5 separate regions of the Homo sapiens genome follow, and regions 2, 3, 4 and 5 are each linked to region 1. The links are contacts of gene promoters, found by promoter capture Hi-C in blood cells and fetal thymus (Javierre and others, 2016). All regions are on one chromosome and are shown on one strand. The core of a region is centred on a gene start or on the middle of the fragment in contact, and the rest is flanking DNA. Distances in the headings are between cores, read along the strand shown.

Region 1 (2,700 bases), core at 187-2,686:
AAATGGAGAGCTGGGATTTGAACTCAGGCAGTCTGACTCCGGAGGCTATATACATTTACCCTCCTTGGTACACTGCTTTTTTTCAAAAATAGAAATTCAACAAAATTTCCCAAAGTAAAAGTTCATTTGAAGTTTCAGAAACTTAAAACAATGATTGAACAGATAAGTTGCAACAGACTTCATAAGCAGTTCAGTAAAAATGTAGACTTACGAAATGGCATATATCAAGATACAAAATAAGTTGCTTCTATAAGTTTCTTTTCTTAAAAAAAATTACTTGGAAATATTTCAAGTATATAGAACAGTAAAGGAAATAATTACAAGTGAACACCCATGTGCCCTCTACTTAGCTTAATGTTTTGCCACATTTTCAAGATATTTCTGGTAGAAAACAAACGTTATAGATACAAATGAACCCTTCTTGTTACATTCCCTTCTGTTCATCTCTGGAAGCAACCAGTATTCTGAATTTGGTATCTATCATTTCCTTATACAATTTTTAGTTTGATCTTACTTTTTTGTAATTATTAAACTTTTATTTATGGTATGTCATATATATCTTTCCGCAACCTGTCTTTTCATTTCTTCCTCAATATTAGGTTAATGACTCTATCCATATGAAAAATGGTAGCTTTAGTTCACTGATTTTTTGGTTCGTGTTGTATGTCAATTTGTTCAACAATGACACTTATTCATCCATTCTCCTATTAGTAGACATTTATTGTTTCACTAATATAAGCTATTTTGCTCTGAACTTTCTTGCACGTGCCTATAACTTAAAAATACACATACTTTTTTAAAACATGCAGTTAAACAGGAACATACACATTTCTTTAACATGTAGTTAAACAGGAAAAGTAACACATGTGCATGAAGAATACAACCAAGAGAGCCATCACGTTCAAGAAAAGACCACAGGTTATTCCGAGTGAAGTAAGGCTTTCACTAGAAGGCACTTGGGGAACGTTCCAATGACAGCGACATTCATCGCTACAGTAGAAACTCACACAATCGCAGCCCTTTATTAGTATTTTGTTACCCAGTAGTTCCTGTGTCCATTCATTTCCTCAACTGGAGTGTGAGCTCCAAGAGGACCGAACCGGGCACCGACAAGGTGAGCCAATATGAATGTGGCGAGTCCGCAATGGGGGCTACAGCGGCCGACCTCTGGGGCTGTGCCAGGCCACTAGAGTGTGATGGCGCGAGGGAAGGGTCGGGGAAACAGGGCCTAACCTCACTTTTCACCCCGAAAGTCAAGATAGCCACGGAAACAGGGATGAATGGGGAGCACAGACACCTGCCTCGAAGTGTCTCTTCACTTTCACTCACAAAGCCGTCGGGTCAGTAACCAGAAGCCGAGGGGCGGATGCGGCCCCCGCCCTGTGGCACTTTCTCAGTCTGGTTCTTCCAGCCGCGCCTCTTTGCCTTACGCCAATTCCGTAAGGAGGCGCTGAGGCCAACTGGCCGGCTCCCGCAGCTCCAAAACTTGACGTGAAATTGCGCGGGGCAGAGCTGACTGCGGCCATCTTTAATTCGGGCAAGACCCCACCCTCGCACCCCACCCACTAGTCCTTTTCAGCGTTCCCAGGATTTTCTCCAACAAATGTAACGCGGTTAACCTTAGAAGCAGTGTTGAAGAAACACGCAAAGAGGCCTGAGTATCCATGACCTCAGTGGTGCGAAACCCGGCCAACTTAAACATGGCGGCTAAACCCGAACAGCAAAACGTTGCTGACGCCAATGAAGTCATGCTCGAAATGGAGCGAGGCGGCGGAGCTGGGGAGGCGGTAATCTCGCGAGATGGAAGCCAGCCTCCGCTAGGCCCGGAAGCCTCGTCTGAGGGGGCGGGGGACGGAGGAGGGAGCGGGAGTCGAGCGAGAGCCTGTGGAGGAGTCCGCCTGCTGTAGCGTGCGTAAGCAAGGCAGCTACGCCGGGCGGCTACGCTGCGGAATCGGCGTAGGCGCCTTTGGAGAATCGGCGGGCTGCGCTCCGCTGGGGCTGGTCGCGGAGGGGGGGAGGGGATGTCGGTCAGTGCGAGATCCGCTGCTGCTGAGGAGAGGAGCGTCAACAGCAGCACCATGGGTGAGTCTCAGCTTCGGGTGCCGCGACTTGGGGTCAGCGGCTCCGAATGCCGGGAAGCTCTGCGGCCGCTGGACCGAGCTAGGGAACGCCCTGAGGCGAGGCGGAGGCAGCGGCGAGGGGAGCCGGGATGGGGGCCACTGCGGGCCCGGGGCGCGGCAGCGGCGGGCTCGGGGGGAGGGGAGGCGGCGGCGGTGACAGTTTGAATTGAACGTGAGGAGAGCCGAGGCGGCGGCATTTCCTGTGCCGCGGCGGGCTGGCCCCCGGCGCAGAGCCGCGGCCTCCGCGGCCGGAGCAGCCTGAGCGTGGTGGTCTCAGCCCTGCCCTTGCTTCTCTCCGTCCCTTCGCCTTTCCTCAGTCTCCTCCCGGGCCCGCCGGCTTCCGCGGCCCCGCTTCCTCCTGTCCCCGGCCGCATCCCCGTCGGCAGAAGTCCCCTCGTGGGGCAGTGGGCCTGGCTAGGAGGGTGGGGACGAGTGTGAACGCTCGGGCGAGGGTGCTGTGTGGGCCAACCCGGGCGGGCGGCGGCGGGGAGGGAGGAAGAAGGATGCACCAGGCTGAGGCTGTGGTGGAGGCGGCGGCGGCGGCTGCAGCCGCAGCTCCAGTCACCGCGTCGCCTCCCCG
Region 2 (2,700 bases), core at 141-2,640, 600 kb after region 1:
TTTTTGTTTTTGTTTTTTTGAGACAGAGTCTCACTGTGCTGCCCAGGCTGGAGTGCAGTGGCGCAATCTCGGCTCACTGCAACCTCCGCCTCCCAGGTTCAAGCAGTTCTCCTGCCTCAGCCTCCCGAGTGGCTGGGATTACAGGCACATGCCATCACACCCAGCTAATTTTTGTATTTTTAGTAGAGATGAGGTTTCACCATGTTGTCCAAGCTGGTCTTGAACTCCTGACCTCAGGTGATCCGCCTGCCGCGGCCTCCCAAAGTGCTGGGATTATAGACGTGAGCCACCTCGGCAGGCCACCTGATGTTTTTTGGCACATAGCATAGTCTATGGTGTCAATTAATACCTATTTATTTTAGCAGTGGTGAGGTAAGAGGTAGGACTCGACTCCAGATGCGGGACTTGGACACTGGACAAGATAGAGAAATAACAACAACAACAAACAAATAAATTAAAAAAAAATTGAGGACTAGCTAAAACAGGGCCTGGGGGAAGCAGCTTTCCAGTGACATGCCCACCAGTGTGCCATGTCAATTCATCATTGCCATGGCAACACCCAGGAGTTACCACCCCTTTCCATGGCAATGACCCAAAAGTTACTATCCCTTCCCTAGATATTTCTACATAAGCTGCCCCTTAATGTGCATGCAATTAAGAGTAGGTATAAATATGATTGTAAAACTGCCCTGAACTGCTACTCTCTGCCTATGGAGTAGCCCTGCTCTGCACAGGGAATCAACAGAGCTGTAACATTGCCTCTTCAATAAAGCTATTTTTTTTTTTTTTTTTGAGGTGGAGTCTTGCTGTGTTTCCCAGGCTGGAGTGCAGTGGCACAATCTTGGCCCACTGCAACTTCTGCCTTCCAGGTTCAAGCAATTCTCCTGCCTCAGCCTCCTGAGTAGCAGGGATTACAGGCACACGCCACCACACCCAGCTAATTTTTTGTATTTTTAGTAGAGACAAGATTTCACCATGTTGGCCAGGCTGGTCTCAAACTCCTGACCTCAGGTGATCCACCCGCCTCGGCCTCCCAAAATACTGGGATTACAGGTGTGAGCCACCGTGTCCTGCCTGCACCTAGGTTATAATACTAGCCTTCTAACTGGTCTTCCTGCTTCAGACCTCTGCCCTGTCCAGTCCCTCCTCAATTTTCACACCAGCGCGATTTTTCTAAAACACTTGCCTGCTTCTGCTTTAAACTCTCCCAGGACCTCCCCATCACCTCCTGATTAAATTCCAATCTGGACCTGCTCTTTTTCAAACGTATCTCTCTATTTTGACACATTCAGAATGGAAAAAAAATGTAACTCTTGCTTTTCTACTGCTTGCTTTAAACACCAGAATAGGATCTACTTATACACACACTCTGCTCATGTTACTTACCTCTGCTTTCTATACATTTTTGTTTTTCTGACTAGATTATCTCCATTCTCTGAAGCCAGTTGTCCTTCAGAGTCCAGCTTAAGGAGTCTCTCCCTCCTCCAGAAAAGCCTCCCTGACCACCACTTTACCTGCAATACCCTTTATATACTTCTGTTATTTTCCCTAGAATAAACACTGTCCTATCAGCAGATGACAGTTTTATTGTCATATTTTAGGAATGGGCTTAATAAGACCTCTAGCTCTTGTAACTATACTCTGTGGTGCATGCCTGTAATCCCAGCTACTTGGGAGGCTGAGGCAGGAGAATGTCTTGAACCCGGGAGGCGGAGGTTGCAGTGAGCCGAGATCGCGCCATTACATTCCAGCCTGGGCAACAAGAGCGAAACTCTTTCTCAAAAAATATAATATAATATAATATAATCTAGGTGCAAAGAGTGAAGGCCTGTGGAAATGAAGAGGAGAAGCTGGATTTGAGAGATACAGGAGACAAACTCTAAGACCTAACGACTGGATGGTGGAGGGAGAAGGGAGGAAGAGGTCAGATTCCTGGCCTCAGTGACTGGGTAGTTAGTGATGTCTTTTCCTAAGATGAGGAGGAATATGTTCGGGGCAATTTCAACTTCACATATGTTATTTGGGATATCTGTGGGAGAGCCAAATGGAGGTATTTGGTAGTTGCAAGACTGTGAAGGATAAGCCAGGAAGGATAGTAGAGAATGATGTCACAAATAGAAAGGGAGTGATATATTTTAGAGATGTCAAGAAATACAAAGCCTGCAAAGTGTGTACTGGCATCTAGTGACAATGGCAAAACCAACTTCAGGGCAGTGGTATAGGCAGAAGGTCAGTTGAGTGAGTTAAGTGGTGCGTGAATATTGTGCAGGGAAAGAGGGGCGGTAGTTAAAGAGGATGTATATCAATGAGGGGATGTTTATTTTTTTTGAGACAGGGCCTTGCCTCATTGCTCAGGCTGGAGTGCAGTGGTAATGCTCTCAGCTCGCTGCAACCTCCTCCACCTCCCAGGCTCTAGCGATCCTCCCACCTCAGTGACCCGAGTAGCTGGGACTATAGGCGCATCACCAAGCCCAGCTAAGTTTTGCATTTTTTGTAGATGTTGCATTTTTCGTAGGTTTTGCCGTGTTGCCCAGGTTGGTCTTGAAGTCCTGAGCTCAAGCAATCCACCCGCCTTGGCCTCCCAAAGTGGTGGGATTACAGGCATGAGCCCACCGCTCCTTGCCGGGATGTTTGTTTGTTTGTTTGTTTATGAGAGGGAGTCTTGCTCTGTCACCGAGGCTGGAGTGCAGTGGCACGATC
Region 3 (2,700 bases), core at 13-2,512, 540 kb after region 1:
GAAACTGATGCTGACATAAAAAATGTTGATGGTTTTTAATGATATGAGAAAATGTTTATGATAAGTAAGTGAAAGTACATTGACCACAATTATGATCATTAAGCATGGGAAAAGAAAAATACTCTCAAAGGTCAATAGTGGTTACCTGTGGGTGGTAGAATTATGGGATTCTTATTCTCCACACTTTTCTAAGTTTTTATACTGAATATAAACTACTTTTCTAACTGGAAAAACAAATGGTTAAGTGCCTTCTACTTTGGAATCTCCTGGCCTTTCTATTCACTATCTAATTACCTTTTCCCATTTGCCAGGTAGGCATTGATATCCCTTCTCTGGAGTATTTGCATTTAACAAAGAAATACATGAAATTGTTTTTAAATCTTAAAAATTCAACTAATATTTTTCTATAATAGATTTTTAGGTAGGGATGATTGTTAGCAGGAAAACAGTTGGTATATTTTGCATTCTTGAGGTTAACTCATGGAACAGAGAGCCACTTCCCTAAAAATCCAGCCCAGATTTGCCCACAGATATCAAATATATTCTTTGCTTCCTTCCAACTCTAAGAATAGCGACATAAGTAGAAAGCAATGTAACATTACAAATTTTCATAAATCAGTTTTAAAATTCCTAGAACCAGAACATCTTAATGTACACACACCTATCCCTATTGTCCAGGTCTCAGCCTCCTAGTCCGCATGAATCTGACTTTGGACCTTCCCTTTGTGTACATCTTAAAATGTACTTGGCCAACTCCTCCATTACCTTGTTAGAAAATAGTATAACGGAATCTACTCTTGAGTTCCACAAGACACACTGTCAGGTAGGATAACACTTCTTGCTAAAACTGATGTGAAACAAGCAACCAAATACATTTTTGCCTTTTTAAAAACATTGAACAAAAAAACCCATATTTTTACTAAATTGTTATTATCTCTATTCACAAATCAATCATTTCTGAATCTTTCCCACTTTATAGAATGAGAATATATTTTTAAATTTTTAAAAGATTTTTCTTCACCAGAAGCATACAGTTGAAGAAGAGAATATTTTAAATAAACCTTTGCATATCTTATAGGCATCAAAACAAATTGATTTTCAGAGACCTGGAATCTAGAGCAAAGAGGAAATAAAAGCAAAATGAGTAATTGTTCTCTCCTCACCTGAATGTCACTTACAATGCCACACAAAATAGAATAGCACCATTATTCATATTACAGATCTGTCATCTCAGGATCCTGAAGCACTTTTATTCTCCTCTATTAAAATTAGAACAGTATGTAATCAAATTATTTTCAAACAGTGGGGCTGGGACAATTGGATATCCACATTTAAAAGAATGGAGTTGGACCTCTATCCCATATCATATATAAAAATTAACTCAAAATGGATCCAAGACCTTAACCTCTTAAGAGCTAAAGCAATAAAACTCTTAGAAGCAAGCATAGGCATACATCTTCATGACCCTGGATTAGGCAATGGGATCTTAGATATGACACCAAAAGCACAAACAACAAAAAGATAAGATGGACTTCATCAAAATTGTGCTTCTAAGGATACTATCATAAAAATAAAAAGTGACCCAAAGAATGGGAGAAAGTGTTTGCAAATTTCATATCTGATATCTAAAATATATAAAGAACTCCTGCAACTCAAGAACAAATAACTCAACTGAAAAATTGGCAAAGGATCTGAAATAGGCAATTTTCCAAAGAGGATATACAAAATGGCCATTATTAACCATCAGGGAATTGCAAATCAAAAGCACAATGAGATACCACTTCACTCCCACTGGGATGTCTATAGGAAAAAAAAAGGGCTGATGAGAACGTGGAGAAACTGGAACGCTCACATGCTGCTCATGGGAAACTAAAATGGTATAATCACTTTGAAAAACAGTCTGGCAGTTCCTTAAAAGGTTAAACATAGAGAAATTATATGTACTAACAAGTCCACTACTAGATGTGGACCCAAGATAACTGAAAACATTTGTCCATAAAAAATGTGTACACAAATGTTCATACAGCATTATTAACAGCCAAAAAGTAGAAATAACCCAAATGTCTATCAAATTATAAAAAAAATAGAATGTAGTATATTCATACATGGAATATTATTCAGCAATAAAAAATGCTGATGCATGCTAGAACACAGCATGGATAAACTTTGAAAACATTATAATAAGTGACAGAAGCCAGTCACAAAGGACCACAAGGTATTGTATGATTCCATTCATATCGAAAGTCCAGAACAGGCAAATCCAGAAAGTCAGAAAATAGACTGGTGGTTGCCTAGGGCTGGAAGGTTGGTGAGATGGGGAACGATTGCTAATGGGTACAGTGTTTCTTTTTGAGGTGACGAAATGTTCTAGAATTAGTGGTTATAGTTGCACAACTCTAAATACATTAAAAACCACTGAACTGTACTCTAGTTTTATTTATTTTATTTTACTTTTTTGAGACAGAGTGTCGCTCTGTTGCCCGGGCTGGAGTGCAGTGGCACGATCTTGGCTTACTGCAACCTCCGCCTCCCGGGTTCAAGCGATTCTCCTGCCTCAGCCTCCTGAGTAGCTAGGATTATAGGTGCCCGCCACCACACTAGGCTAATTTTTATATTTTTAGTAGAGACAGGGTTTCACCATGTTGGTCAGGCTGGTCTCAAACTCCTGACCTCATGATCCACCCACCTTGGCCCCCCAAA
Region 4 (2,700 bases), core at 15-2,514, 560 kb after region 1:
CAACCAATGTAGTTTATCGACTGTATGAAAATGAGACGAAAGGCACTGCTAATGTCATTCAGGAATTCAGAAACTTGACTGTACTTTAGGATTCTTAAAAATTTCACAGCCCCAGGTAAGAGCAATTCAGTGCTGCTCTATTAGTAACTTATAATGGGACACTGTTGTTTTGGGGTCAGAAACTTGTGTGTTTGTTGTTTTTACAGTTAGAAATACAGAGTAGTCTAGATACCCTTGATGGTGATGGTTGTGGTAAGAGTGAGCATTATACATCATCTAAAATAACACTAAATGTGCCAGAAACAAACTTTCCCATGGCTTTCCCTTGGGATGGACAAAACTCCTAACCATGGTCTATGAGGTCACTCTTGGTCAGATCCTTCTGCCTCTGCAGCCTCACCTCACACTGTGTTCCTCAATTTCTCCACTCCAGCCTTCTCTCACTTTGACCATATCTCATACTCACTATGCTCTCTCCGAACATACTTCTTCACATGCTGCTCCCTGTGTCTGCTGGGCCCTTCTATCCCTCTCTTTGTTAGATTAATATCCACTCATCTTTCAGTTCAAATAGCACTTGGTCAGGAAGCCTTCCTTAACTTTTTCATTTTAGACCCTCATAACACCTTGTATCTCTTCTTCGAAGTACTTTATCATGGTTGCAGGTTTATATTTGTTGTATGACAGACTTCGTCAACAATGAAATTATAAGCTCTTTTACAACATACATCTGTGTTTGGTTTTGCTTATTCACTGTCCTGCTTATGAAAGGGGGGCCAGAGAGGTAGACAAGGGAAGAGAATATTTGAGAGGAAAGAAAGGGTAAAAGACTTAGTTGCCTGACGGTTGAGGAAAAAATTATCCCAGGAAGGTAAAAGAAAAATGAAACAATTAGTGATGTTGAAGACAACATGGTAGGTACCTGCTGCTGTAGGACAAACAGGAGCTATGTGCCTAGGTATATTCAACCTGTATGGCCTAACGATGGCCTTAAGACTTTCATTTCCAGTATTTTTAAACATTCATCTTTGATATAAAGACACTTCATTTCTGGAATGACTCATTAATCTCTCCTTATATCACATACAAAATAAAGCCGATAGGCAATCATAAATGAACATAATCTTATATGGTTTCTCACAGCATTTTGTTAATGAATGAACTAGATGCGTTCTATTTTGAAAACAACAAATTTTTATTCAAGTGAAATATGATTTTCCCAGGTAAAAATTATTACATACTTGCCTGTGATTAAAAATCTAAAAACCAACAGTTGAGCAAACCATCGGATAATGTCACACTGATATTACATGAAATCTTGATGTTGGATTTTGTGGCTCAAATCAGTGTACAGTCACTATAATAGTGAGCTGATTTTCCTAGCAGTTGACAACATGGACTTTGGAATGGAGTTGTCTGGTATGAATCTTGGCTCTGTTTATTAATAGCTATTACCCTGACCAAGTTACATAACTTCTTTGTGCTACAGTTTCCTTATCTGTAAAATGGGATAATAATAATGCATACTTCATAGTATTATTGTAAGGATTTTAAAAGTGAATATGTGTGAAGTGCTGAGAACAGTGCTGGACTATAGGTAAGCAGCCTTTGTTAACTATTATTAGTATCACATTAAATATTATATTCAGCTCCTATAGAAACACCGCATGGAAAAATGTACATAGGGAAATATTCTGAATCATTAAATTTGAATTCCAAGGCAAATTTCATGTTAATAAGGTAATTAATCTATATTTTAGAATCAAGATTTTAGTGGCTTTGGTATAATAAACCCTTTTTTTTTTTTTAAATCCCGGAAGCTAAAGTAGAATCTTCTTCTTCTTTTTTTTTTTTTTGTGACAGGGTCTCACTCTGTGGCCAAGGCTGGAGTGCAGTGGCAATCCTGACTCACTGCAACCTCTGCCGCCTGGGCGCTCAAGTGATACTCCTGCCTCAGCCTTCCAAGTAGCTGGGACTACAGGCGCAGGCCATCATGCCCGGCTAATTTTTTAATTTTTTGTAGAGATAAGGTTTTGCCGTGTTGCCCAGGCTGGTCTTGAACTCCTGAGCTCAGGTAATCCGCCTGCTCTCCGCCTCACAAACTGCTGGGATTACAAGTGTGAGCCACTGCACCCAGCCTCAGAACCTTCTTCTTTAAAAGGCCATGAGAAGTCAAAAAAACCTTTTCTGATTTGATTCCATTTTTAAACAGCATAGATAGCATATACTAATAAGTCAAAAGTGGGTAAGATATTATATAGGAAGGATTTCAGAAACAAGTAATTGCTTCATTCCTGAAATATAAAATGAGTCTGTTCTATATTTGTAACGACTTTTAGAGCTGAAAAAAAAATGAACACATTTCCATCAGTACTCTTACCACAATCAAGTTCTGCTAACCAGAAAGAAGAACATGGCCATCTCAGATATCAATGAATCGTGAGGGAATGACCAGGGGAGAGGAGGGCATGTTTTCAGCTTAACTCTCTACATGAAGTTTCTGGCTGTCCAAACTGGGTTTTTCTGATATCGCAGTGAAATGCTGGGCACAGGGCTCTAGAATTATTTCAAGCAGTTAAGTATATTTAAGAGAGAAAGTAGTCTGAAAAATGACCCAGTTATTTTTAAAGGAATTGTAAATTAGAGGCTTGCATGGTCTCAAATGGCTATTTGAACTTTATTGTACTATAGAAATTCACT
Region 5 (2,700 bases), core at 87-2,586, 510 kb after region 1:
CGTTTGCAGCGGAGATAAAGAGTGTTGTGTGAACCTGAGGAAGGAGGGAGAACCTGCTCAGCTGGAGGCGAGTCTGAGGAGTCTTCCTGGGAGAGGTCCCCTTGAGCGGGGACCTGACCGGGTGAGTAGCAGATGGCATCCCCGGAAGAGGGGACCAGGAGGGCCGGGGTGTGGAGGGAGGACAGCAGTGATGTGGCTGCTCCTGGCAAGAGCTTAGGACGAGATATGGAGAGGAGACTGACGGGAGCCACAGGCCAGCTCTTCCAAGGCAGGCTAAGGATGTTGAGGTGGTTCTGCGGCGCTGGGGAGCATTGCAGGCTTGTGTGGGAGTAGGAACAGGTAGAGGAGGGGGCCTGCATCCGCAGTGCCGGGAGCGGCGCAGGTATCGGGGCAGGGATGGGGGATGGCTCTCGTTGCCGGCATATTATTGTGCGGTCCTTCGGCTAAGGTGTTAGCAGAGCTGGTGGGGGCCAGGTTGGTCACACTAGTCTCAGAGAAAGGCCTGAGGGGCTGGAAAGCAAGTGCAGAGGTGGGCTATTGGGACACTGTTGAGTGTCACAAGGACATGGGTTCGAGTTCTGCCTCCACCCTGACCAGCTTCAGGTTTCTAAGAAGTTGATCTTTGTTAGGTTTAAAAAAAAAGAAAAAAGAAAAATTCAGGAAAAGAGCCAGGTTTGGGGAGAAGATGCTAATCCCCGTTTTGGACAAGTTGAACTAGGGTGCCTATAGGTCAACTGCCCAGGCAGTTGGGAGCGGGTGGGGAAACCTGCCCTTCCAGAGCCTTCCATGATGGGTCTGCTGTGCTCCCGTCAAGGGTGGGACATTCCTCTATGAGAACACACATCAAACCGTGGAGTGCCTCGGCTGTCAGGCCTGCCTCCCAGCCAGACTGCACATGTAGAGAAGTAGAGGGAAGCTTACCTGAAGATGACAGTCCCGATGATGATGATGATGATGATGACGATGGTGATGATTGATCATGATGATGTTTTAAGAGCAGGGAGGCTGTTACCTTTTCTTATGGGCTGAAATGTGTCCCCTCAAAATTTATATTAAAATCCTAACCCCTAGTACTTTAGACTGTGACTTTATTTGCAAATAGGGTCATTGCAGACACAATTAAGATAAGGTCCTACTGGAGTAGAGTGAGCCCTTCATCCTATATGACTTAGTATTCATATAAGAAGAAGAAAAAACAGAAACAAACAGGGAGAGGGCCAAGTGGCCACGGAGGCAGAGATTACAGTGATGGAGCTGCAAGCCAAGGAACACTGCGGAGCAGCGTCCGAGGCTGGAAGAGGAGAGGCAGGGTCCTCCCTGCAGGCTTCAGAGGGAGTGGCCTCGCTCATACCTTGATTTTGGACTCCCTGACTCCAGTACCATGGGTGAATAAATTTCTCTAGTTGTAAGCCTCTCAATTGATGGTAATTTGTTATGACACCCCTAGGAGACTAATAGATGATCATGTCTGTATCCCCAGAACCTGGCACATCATGGCATTGGAGAAGCAAATGAATGAATGAAGTTCAGAGAGGGAATGCAGGAGAACTACTCAGCCCCACAAAGTCAGGTGGAATGTGGCTCTGCCCGCCTCCCCAAAGAAGGCTCTGTAGCCAAGAGCAGCAACAAATAGGCTGAGGGAGACCTGGGATGGTGCCGGTCTCCACCAGCTCACCTCCCTTGGTCTTGTCACCCAGGGCAGATCCTGATGTGGGGAGGGAGAGAGCAGAGAGCAGAGAAACCCTGGGGTTACCAGTGAAGCTTGTCTCTCACCTCAAGGGTGTCCTCTCCCTTCCTTGCTTTCTTCCACCACCACTACCCCATCCTCTCTGCAGTATCTCTGCGTCTGAGCATCAGAGCTAGGGTGACATTTACCCACCCTTTGGGAGTGGGTCCCTGGAAAGGTGCCAGGTGGAGCTGGAGGTTGAAGCAAGTTTCAGGGCATTGACAGGAAGAGAGTGAGGGAAGCCCTGGGTAGCACTAAGAGCATGGCTATAATGGGTGTTATGAGCCCAAACTCCTGTTCAGATCCTTTCCGGAAATTACTATTGGTGTGACTTTGGGAAAGTCACTCGACCCCTCTGAGCCTCTCAGTTTCTTTACCTGAAAAATGGAGGTATGTCTACTACCTTTAATATTGTCATAAAGATTAAATGAAATATATTTGGCATGAAATCGTCACCACCATCATTATCTTCAGTGGTGGCCAAGTGTCTCTAGGGAAGACAGGAGTGCAATGTGGATGGAAAGGTTTGGGGAGTTCCCAGACCACCCAAATCTGTGAGCAGGATGGCACTGAGAAATGCAGAACATGCCCTGGGGATGGGGGCAATTTTCTACAGTCTGGAGGATGTCTTTCAATCCTGGCTTCTGTGCAGAGCTGAGCAGTGTCCAGGGGTGGACGGTCCCCAGCCAAGCATGAGGAGGCCCCTTTGTGGGAGCCAACACCATACAGGGGGACAAGTTCAGATGTCAGGGCCCCATCAGAAGTGGGGGGCACAGAGTTTAAACCACCACTGAAAATAGGCAAGGGGACCCTTGTTGGAAGGAGTTTGCTGGGCATGAGAGAGGCCACCAGTGAGAGTAGGGGCAACCCTGACCTTCAGGGTCAAACCACATAAGGCAGGATTGCCCTGCAGCTTTTGGTTTTGGTGTCTGGCCAATTGCCAGTAGTCAGTGATGGAAGATGCCATTTCCCAA

The links. The method cuts DNA at HindIII sites, captures the fragments that hold promoters and counts their contacts. A CHiCAGO score of 5 or more calls a contact.
Region 2: a fragment that was not itself captured here is called in contact with the fragment with the promoter of SEPTIN7-DT in region 1 in 1 of 17 cell types (fetal thymus); the score reaches 5.1 in fetal thymus.
Region 3: a contact is called between a fragment that was not itself captured here and the fragment with the promoter of SEPTIN7-DT in region 1, in 1 of 17 cell types (erythroblasts). The highest score is 5.3, in erythroblasts.
Region 4: a fragment that was not itself captured here is called in contact with the fragment with the promoter of SEPTIN7-DT in region 1 in 9 of 17 cell types (fetal thymus, neutrophils, naive CD8 T cells and 6 more); the score reaches 11.0 in fetal thymus.
Region 5: a contact is called between a fragment that was not itself captured here and the fragment with the promoter of SEPTIN7-DT in region 1, in 1 of 17 cell types (M1 macrophages). The highest score is 5.5, in M1 macrophages.

The regions. Positions count from the first base shown.
Region 1 is chr7:35,799,189-35,801,888 of GRCh38, forward strand. It overlaps SEPTIN7-DT (SEPTIN7 divergent transcript), which reads right to left and starts at 1,437. Exons shown (of 5, transcript NR_120512.1): 1 at 1,302-1,437. It overlaps SEPTIN7 (septin 7), which reads left to right and starts at 1,869. Exons shown (of 14, transcript NM_001788.6): 1 at 1,869-2,082. The coding sequence starts at 2,022. RefSeq lists enhancers at 1,101-1,160, 1,283-1,906, 1,521-1,910 and silencers at 2,061-2,300, 2,331-2,700. The HindIII fragment of the contact is 5,766 bases long and covers 1-2,700 here.
Region 2 is chr7:36,401,338-36,404,037 of GRCh38, forward strand. The region is part of intron 3 of ANLN (anillin, actin binding protein); the gene reads left to right. Among named protein-coding and RNA genes, the nearest start is that of ANLN, 13 kb to the left of the region's middle. The HindIII fragment of the contact is 5,463 bases long and covers 1-2,700 here.
Region 3 is chr7:36,344,322-36,347,021 of GRCh38, forward strand. All of the region lies in intron 2 of MATCAP2 (microtubule associated tyrosine carboxypeptidase 2), which reads right to left. Among named protein-coding and RNA genes, the nearest start is that of MATCAP2, 22 kb to the right of the region's middle. The HindIII fragment of the contact is 4,851 bases long and covers 1-2,700 here.
Region 4 is chr7:36,362,250-36,364,949 of GRCh38, forward strand. The region is part of intron 1 of MATCAP2 (microtubule associated tyrosine carboxypeptidase 2); the gene reads right to left. Among named protein-coding and RNA genes, the nearest start is that of MATCAP2, 3.6 kb to the right of the region's middle. The HindIII fragment of the contact is 6,130 bases long and covers 1-2,700 here.
Region 5 is chr7:36,312,855-36,315,554 of GRCh38, forward strand. No RefSeq gene overlaps it. Among named protein-coding and RNA genes, the nearest start is that of MATCAP2, 53 kb to the right of the region's middle. The HindIII fragment of the contact is 845 bases long and covers 915-1,759 here.